Regions from separate parts of the Homo sapiens genome. Here region 1 is linked to region 2. The links are contacts of gene promoters, found by promoter capture Hi-C in blood cells and fetal thymus (Javierre and others, 2016). All regions are on one chromosome and are shown on one strand. The core of a region is centred on a gene start or on the middle of the fragment in contact, and the rest is flanking DNA. Distances in the headings are between cores, read along the strand shown. Region 1 overlaps MTMR3 (myotubularin related protein 3). Region 2 holds the start of NEFH (neurofilament heavy chain).

Evidence for each region. Contacts are between HindIII fragments. The CHiCAGO score rates a contact against its expected background, and 5 or more counts as called.
Region 1: a contact is called between a fragment that was not itself captured here and the fragment with the promoter of NEFH in region 2, in 1 of 17 cell types (megakaryocytes). The highest score is 6.7, in megakaryocytes.

What each region holds. Positions count from the first base shown.
Region 1 is chr22:30,001,332-30,005,665 of GRCh38, forward strand. It overlaps MTMR3 (myotubularin related protein 3), which reads left to right. Exons shown (of 20, transcript NM_021090.4): 9 at 1,549-1,662. Among named protein-coding and RNA genes, the nearest start is that of MIR6818, 3.6 kb to the right of the region's middle. The HindIII fragment of the contact is 1,301 bases long and covers 1,806-3,106 here.
Region 2 is chr22:29,478,116-29,482,305 of GRCh38, forward strand. It overlaps NEFH (neurofilament heavy chain), which reads left to right and starts at 2,103. Exons shown (of 4, transcript NM_021076.4): 1 at 2,103-3,030. The coding sequence starts at 2,148. It overlaps LOC107985541 (a long non-coding RNA gene), which reads right to left and starts at 11. Exons shown (of 4, transcript XR_001755482.2): 1 at 1-11. RefSeq lists enhancers at 63-564, 3,125-3,979. The HindIII fragment of the contact is 8,116 bases long and covers 1-3,300 here.

The DNA of each region.
Region 1 (4,334 bases), core at 1,206-3,705, 520 kb after region 2:
AATGAACCGAGATCATGCCACTGCATTCCAGCCTGGGCGACAGAGCGAGACTCCATCTCAAAGAAAAAAAAATTAGTTGGGCATGGTGGTGCATGCCTGTAGTCCCAGCTACTGGGGAGGCTGAAGTAGAAGAGTTGTTTGAGCCCAGGAGGTCGAGGCTGCTGTGAGCCATGACCGCTCCACTGCTCTCTAGCCCGGGTAACAGAACAACTGTCTCAAGGAGTTTACCAGTTATACCTCAGAACCAGTCTTTAGGATGTTATCACCACCATAAAACAAAATGGGGGGTGGTGGGAAACAACAGGATGTTGAAAGTTCTTCCTACTACAAAGGTAGAAGAGTGAGAGCCAAGTTTACTCTTGAGTTTAATACATAATAAAGGGAATGAGATTCATGGTTAGATATTAACCATCATTACTGGCTCCCAGCTTATTTTTAGGAGTTTGTGAATAGGTGTTAGGAAGTTTGTATAGCTACTCTTAGTCATAGCCATTCTCTTTTGTTCAGTGGCTTTTAAATTCCTGAAAATTCCAGAAGTCTCCTCTTCTGGAAATTGAGGAGAGATTTAGTGCAAAATGATCAAAACCCCCAAATCCTAAGCCATTTTGTGTTTTTCTGCGCTTTCTGCTATGTATAGGATAGGCTAGGGCAGGGGGTTGGTGGTGTTGGTGGAGTTTGTGTGTTTTAGGATTTGGATTAAAGGCCTTATTGCCTTCACTATTGAAAAAAGAAGATTGGATTATCCAGAGAGAGACATTGTCCTGTAAGTAAAAATCTATCGGAAGTATTGCTTCCTAGGATACCGGCTTGACTGTAGCTGGGATCTTCCCTAATTAAAAGAAAGCTTATCCCCCCGCCCCCAGTATAATTTGTTCTGAAGTATGTTTTATGGAAATTATGGTTAATAGCTTAGTCACATTACTAACCTGGTTCAATGGGACTGAGGCTGTGTATGCAGATAGACTGGCTTGTGTTGGTTTTGCATACCCATGGCTGCACCTGTTACCTATAAGGATGACACCCTGTTTGGTTCAAATCAAAGAATGAGTTAATCCTGTGAAGTCTCTGGAAACTTGCAATTGTGGGCTTTTTTCCTTCCCTGAGGGTCTGGTAGAACTGACACGGACTCTCAGTTCTGTAATTGGACTGGGCGCTCATGTAGTTAGAAATAACCTATGTACTTGTTACAGCAGAAGAGTTGTAATGGAGTATAAAGAGCTGACCCTCGACTCCCCTTTTTTTCATTGATAGTTAAGATTGCCAGATTCCCAAAAGGTAGCATCAAGTGGAACAATTCAAGATAGTATCATTTGTTGTATACACATAAGTAAACATTTAAGGCAACAAAACAAAACAAAACACACTTATGGTAACCCATTCTGTTGAGGAGTCCAAAACTCGAATAAAGCGCCTCATTGCCTTTAACTGGTTCTGTGGCAGTGAGATCATCATCCTTATGCTGGCTCACCTAGTGTCTCTCTCTCTCTCCCGTTTTCTCTCTCCCTCTCTTATCCCCTTGACTCTCCCCACTTCTCATCTTCTCTTTAGATTATGTGGTAGCTATCCTCAAGAGCTCATAGTGCCTGCCTGGATCACTGACAAAGAACTGGAAAGTGTATCAAGTTTCAGGTCCTGGAAGCGCATCCCTGCCGTCATCTACAGGTAAGTTAAACTGGACCAGTCCCAGCTTGGGCTGGTGCTGCTGCCTGCTGCATATGGTCTGCTGCCTCTGCTGCTGCTAACCTGGGAAGGGTGGGGAGAGTTCAGAGAACTTTCTAGGCAAGGCTGTACTTCCTTATTGTTAAAGCTTCTCCTCCAGTAACACATCAGTACTGACTGCATTCAGAACACTAGCTGGTTGTTCATTTGAAACAGATAAGAAAGTTTTAGTTGTAAAGTGGCTGGACTTGCTATTTCAATATCCTTCTTACATTCTGTGAGAAGATAATGTGCTTACTAAGCATTTAGCTTCAGCTGTTAGCAGGGCTTTTGGATTGAGAGATGAGTCTTAGAAAGTGATCTTTGGGAATATAGGGTCGAGTTGGCTCTGATTGTCTTTGTGGTTGAAACTTTGACATGTGGAAGAACTCTGTTTCGAGAGGAAGCATTTAGAGAAGAAGACTGAGGCATGACTAGATAGAAGATTTCAGTGATCAGAGGCATGAGAGCCATGGGATGCAAGTTCTAGATGGGGATGGTGGCATGGTGATGGAGCACAGATTTTGGAATCACAGATCTGAATTCAGGTATATTCTTAGACTTCTTGCTAAGGCACCTTGAATAAGTTCCCTAACTGACCTCAGTCTGTTCCTAATGAATACAATGGGAATGGTAGTTCTTATTTTGTAGATATGTTCTGATTCTAAATGAGGGGCTATAAACACTGAGCTTCTGTACCAGCATTTGGAATAGGTTAAATCTCTTGAGTGCTGCTTTTGTAATTCATTGAATATCTTAGTTCTCACAGAATCCTATTAAATTTTAAAGAAGTCCTTCCTTCTTATTCTGGAAATGTTTTGGATGTCATCTCTTTGTAATGTTTACATTCTCCATTTCATTTTCCCAGTTTGCCGGCTTTTTGGACTCTCCCTGAGTTGGGCCAATCCAGTGGCTTACAGTTAGAAACTTCATTCCACTGAAATATTGAGATTGTAGGAAGGGATTTGTCTCCTTGTGGAATTCCTACAGAGGTAACCAGCTTGTTCATTTAGTCTACTAAAGGCAAACTCTGATGCCCACTCTGAATGGAGAGAGATGGAAAAGTATTTGCTCTGGCCCAGTGGAACTCATTACGTTTTTAATCTCAATTCTCATCACTGTTGTTTTCAGACACCCCTAGAAAAGTCAGTCACCAAATTTACCTGTCATTCAAGTGGTAAGGATGCTACAGGAACTAGAGAGTAGTGAAAGCTGAAGGGATTTATGAGTCTTATCAATGATCAGCTCAGCTGGAATGGGGAAAGCAGCCAGTTGCTGCTCTGGCCAACAACTGTGTTAGGTCAGCAGCCCTGGCATCTGTGGGGCTTGCTGACTTTGACCAAAAGGGGGAAGGTACTCTTATTTGCAAAATAAGAGGCTTTAGGTGAATTCTCCCTTTGGGAAGAGAAGCTTAAGAGGGCTGGTTGAAGAAAAACTTCCTTTTTTTCTAAATTTTATTCTAGAGGGCATGCACCTTCTAAAATTAATTCTAGAGGGCATGCACCCTAGGTTTTCCCCCCCTTTTTCTAGAGATACAAGAGGATATATAAATGAAAAATTTTATTTGCAGTTTTTCAGAGAAAGTCTTTCAAAAGATCACAAAGTTCTTGGTGTAGTCATCCATGCAAAATCAGGCAGGTTTCCTGGAACTGGGCTCTGTCTCAGAACATGTGTCTTGTATCGCTGAGATGCAGACTGGGTTGCTGTAGTATTTGGGAGCTTTGTAAGGGGCGTGTGGAAGAATCGGATCCTCCACCATGCTCTGCTTTGCCAGCCTAGGTGGCAGGATGCCTGGAACTCTTGACATCCATTTCCTGAATTTAGTTGTCTGTAGATTGGGTCATGATTCCTGAGGTTGCCAGCAGCAGTTACTTGACAGCACCATGCTGAACCAGCGCTTGATTAGGGCTTTGTCCTACTGTGATGAGAGAGCACTTAATTGGATTTATAACTGAAGGTAGAGATTGCTCTAACATAGCAAGATGATGTAAAGGGCACCCATCTGTAGTGCAGTTCACAGCTTTTTCCTTTGTGCATGTGGTGATTATTCTAAACTCCTAGTTACTTAAGGGAGCTTGCCTAAATCTAAGTTGAGGTTACTTAAGACAATTCTGTTCCTATATAAAATTGAAGCATTCTGTGTTTTAGTAGGGAGGGCTTTATCTGTTGGACATCATAATTTTTATACTTTGCCTGGTTCTGTTAGTGATAGAAATGCATTCCTTTAGTGATTTTTAACTGTAGTGTTTGAATTATCTTTCATGTAGTCTGAAGCATTTTAGAAGACTGCAGAAAACATAATTGTTTATTGCAATAGTCCAGTTGAAATCTAATAGCTACTATAATGCAGTGTCCCCTAAAACCCAAGATCCAGGCTGAAGAGCGCCATCTACTGCTCCTCTTGGGCACTGCTGGGAAGCATTGAAGAAGAGGAGGATGTTCAGGAAAGGCCCAACCAGCCTCTTGTGCAGGGTTTGGAGTCATTCAGCTCAGTGGTTGCCTGTTATTTGCTAGGAGACATTTTATAAAGAATCATTGAGGTTTTATTTCTATTTTGGCCCCATTCAGCACGTGAGCCAGTTGAGCATGTTGGCAATACACAAGTACTTACAGCTACTTGTCTCCCAGGGAGGGAG
Region 2 (4,190 bases), core at 853-3,352:
CATGCAAAACCAGAAACTCCCTCCCCCTCTTCCCTCCTCCCAGCGCACTCTCCTTCCAGTAAAAAGTGGTTAAAGGGACAGCGCCATCAATTTCCCAGCTCTGAGGGTCTGCTTAGAACTAGGGGGCTGGAAGGAGACAGAGGGCAAAGAGAAAGGAACTGGCAGAGGTCTTTCCTGGGGGATATGTCTGTTCTGTCCTGGGGATCCTGGAGCAGGAAAACCCGCGTAAAGTAGGGGTGTAGTGGGTGTTGAGATAACTGCCTGGGGGAGGTTCAGAGTGGAAGTACGAGTCTACAAACTCTCAAGGGCGTCTCAGGGCTCCCAGCATCCCCAGGGGTCCTTTCGCAGGGGTCCCTAAGCAGGAGGGGAACAGCCCAGAAAACACGGAACTGGACCCCCGACAGGAAGTCCAGGGAGGGGTCCCTGGCTCACTATGTGACCCTGCTGGATCACTTGCCTCCCCTCTCGGGTCCCCTCAGCACAGTGTCCCTCCCTTCCTTCCCCTAAAGTAAAAGCAGAGGGTTAATCTCTTTCCCCGCCCCACGCCCAACAAAGAGCAGGCCCTGTCCCCGGTGCTGAAGCGCCAGCCGCAGCACCACCCCCACTCCCACAGCATAAAACATGAGCCAAAACCAATAAAGAGCCAAATGTCACAGCCGTTGCAGGGCCCCCTAAATCCTGGGGACCCCTTCTTCTACCTGACATCCTATTGGGGTGAGGGACTTTGGTACTCAGAAAGCATCTCATCACTTCCCTGTAAGAGAGAAGGGATGCCGACTCAGGCGCCTGCTTGTCTGTTACAGGAGTGGGGGAAGAGAGGACAAGTTGAGGCTGAGAAGATGGGGAGGGGGAGGGAGAAAAGAGGACTTCCTAGTGTTGACAGAACGGCAAGATGTGGGTTCCCCATCCCCAGTTCAGCCAGAGACCCCTCAAAGTGGAACTTCCTGGGGCAGTCGGGGGTCAGGAGTTGGAGCTTGTCTCTGGGGCAAGACCCCTTCGTTGTACAGATGGAAAAACAAGGGTGGGAGGACACAGCTTGTCCAAGGTCATTCGACCAGCAAACTGCCTAGCTGACCCCAGTGTGCAGAAGCTGGCTCGGGTGACACCCATCATTTCCCCCCACCCCACACAGGGGCCAGCTCTCTCAACTTCATGCCCAAGCCCTCCTACGGTACCCCCACTGTAGGTTCTCTGCCCCTCAAACTCAGCCCAGCTTTCTCCTGCCTGTTCAGGGGACCTTCTGCCCGCTTCGCTGAGGGTCCGTCCCCTTTACTGGGGCTGGCAGCAGGGTCTCCCATCTCCTCTCTCGGGGGCCACTGCAGACTTTTTAGAGAACGCCTTGCCTCCCCCCAACCCCACCCATCCGGGGTTCCCTCTCTCCATCCTCTGCAGTGTCTCCCATACCCCCATTCAGGGTAGCCTTGCTATTCTCCCCAACTCCAGGTCCCCCTTCATCTATTCCGGGGCTGGCCGCGGAGTTTCCTGAGCGCTCTCCAAGTGGGTCCTCTAGATGTTAGGAGAACACTGTACCTCCCCCGGTCAGGGGTCTCCTGTCTCCGTTCTATGGAGCGTCCATGCTCCCATTCAGGACTGCCTTGCTCCCTCCTCTGTTCCGGGGCTGGCTGCACAGTCTCTGCACCCCCTATCCTGAAAGCCTCTCTTAACTATTTGGAAAGCCTCGTGTCCTGTCTCATACAGGGATCCCCTCATCCTAATGACTGCAATCTTCCATTGCTCCATCCCGAGGGCATCCTGCCCCTATTCCCATCAGGTTTCTCCTTGTCCTCTCCCTGTTTCAAGTCCCCTTTCTTATTCCGAACACACTCGCAGGCTCTTCCGACGCGCACCCGGGGGTCCTCACTGGCCCACTCCGGGAGTCCTCTGCCCGCTTCCCCGACCTCGAGGGTCTCCTCTGACGCAGCGTCGATTCCCCTTCCCTCCTCGGTCCCCTGCCCCGCCCCTCTCACTGCGGCGGAGCCGGTCGGCCGGGGGGCCGCAGGGGAGGAGGCGGAGAGGGCGGGGCCCTCCTCCCCACCCTCTCACTGCCAAGGGGTTGGACCCGGCCGCGGCGGCTATAAAAGGGCCGGCGCCCTGGTGCTGCCGCAGTGCCTCCCGCCCCGTCCCGGCCTCGCGCACCTGCTCAGGCCATGATGAGCTTCGGCGGCGCGGACGCGCTGCTGGGCGCCCCGTTCGCGCCGCTGCATGGCGGCGGCAGCCTCCACTACGCGCTAGCCCGAAAGGGTGGCGCAGGCGGGACGCGCTCCGCCGCTGGCTCCTCCAGCGGCTTCCACTCGTGGACACGGACGTCCGTGAGCTCCGTGTCCGCCTCGCCCAGCCGCTTCCGTGGCGCAGGCGCCGCCTCAAGCACCGACTCGCTGGACACGCTGAGCAACGGGCCGGAGGGCTGCATGGTGGCGGTGGCCACCTCACGCAGTGAGAAGGAGCAGCTGCAGGCGCTGAACGACCGCTTCGCCGGGTACATCGACAAGGTGCGGCAGCTGGAGGCGCACAACCGCAGCCTGGAGGGCGAGGCTGCGGCGCTGCGGCAGCAGCAGGCGGGCCGCTCCGCTATGGGCGAGCTGTACGAGCGCGAGGTCCGCGAGATGCGCGGCGCGGTGCTGCGCCTGGGCGCGGCGCGCGGTCAGCTACGCCTGGAGCAGGAGCACCTGCTCGAGGACATCGCGCACGTGCGCCAGCGCCTAGACGACGAGGCCCGGCAGCGAGAGGAGGCCGAGGCGGCGGCCCGCGCGCTGGCGCGCTTCGCGCAGGAGGCCGAGGCGGCGCGCGTGGACCTGCAGAAGAAGGCGCAGGCGCTGCAGGAGGAGTGCGGCTACCTGCGGCGCCACCACCAGGAAGAGGTGGGCGAGCTGCTCGGCCAGATCCAGGGCTCCGGCGCCGCGCAGGCGCAGATGCAGGCCGAGACGCGCGACGCCCTGAAGTGCGACGTGACGTCGGCGCTGCGCGAGATTCGCGCGCAGCTTGAAGGCCACGCGGTGCAGAGCACGCTGCAGTCCGAGGAGTGGTTCCGAGGTACGCAGGCGCGCGGGTGGGGGGAGGGGCGCCCCTGCTGACCCCGCAGCGAACTTTTGGGCTGCGTGACCCAAGGGGGCGCTGCCGGACTGCGCGTGGAGTGGCGCGCTGCTCACCTTCCCTCTGCAAAGTGCATGCCCCTAGTTAAATCGCAGTTTTACTCTGGGTCTCTTGTGGGACGCCCCAACTCTGGGTTGTCCTTCGGTTCCCCCTTTCCAGGTTCTTTACGGCTGTACTTCAACTCTGGGCCCCCTGCTGCTCTCTACCCCAAGCTTAGGCGACCCCACTCTGAGATCCCTCCCCCGTCAAGAAAAAAACAAGTTTCCTCTACAGGAAAAAAGTGGTGCAGGATTCTGGTCTGCAAGCGCTGGAGACTCTTAGCCCTTCTAAGTAGCAAGGCTTCCCCGCCAATGCTGCCATGCCCTCTCCTACACCCCGCAAGAAACTCTATTCCTCTCACCCCTACCAGGCTCCTTCCCACTACCTGCTCAGTGCTTAACGTTCCTACCTTAAATCTTCCACGTGGGGGTGGGTCAGGACCTTTTCGCATCCTTTCTTCCTAGAGGGAACCATTACTACAGTCAGTTGTTGCCTGTGGCGGAGGTGGCTGGTGGGCCCTTTCATGTTTTAATGTCCCCTTTCTCCTTTAGGGAAGCTGGGAGCCTCCCAAGTCTGCCCCTCCCCCAACTCCTTGCAGCCCTGAGTCAGCTAGATTGCGCTGCCCTGAGGCTGTGCCCAGCAGCTGCAGGGTGACCTTGACCAACACTTGCCCTCTCTGGTTTTCATTTCTTTTTGAGTTGAAAGAGGAGGGTAGATCAACTGGGCTGCTTAATCCGGGGAGTTCCATGATGTCTCACGAAACTGTCTGTAAAACTTTGCGTTGTTTTTGAGAGAGAGGGCAGAGGCTTCAGTGATTTTCCAAAAGCATCTGTGATCGACAATAGTTGAGAATCTCCAACCACCTGGATGGTTTCTAAGTCTTTGCCAGCACTAGCAGGGAAAGCTGGGATTTTGATGCATAGCTTTTTCTGTTCCTTTTCCACTCCTCTGCAGAGCAGAACCATCCCCTCCTCCATCTCCGCAGCAAGGCCCCTCCCTGCGCAAACCTCTTTTGGGTTTGCCAGTCGTAGGGGCAGACGTCCCAGGATTGTACTGGCCCA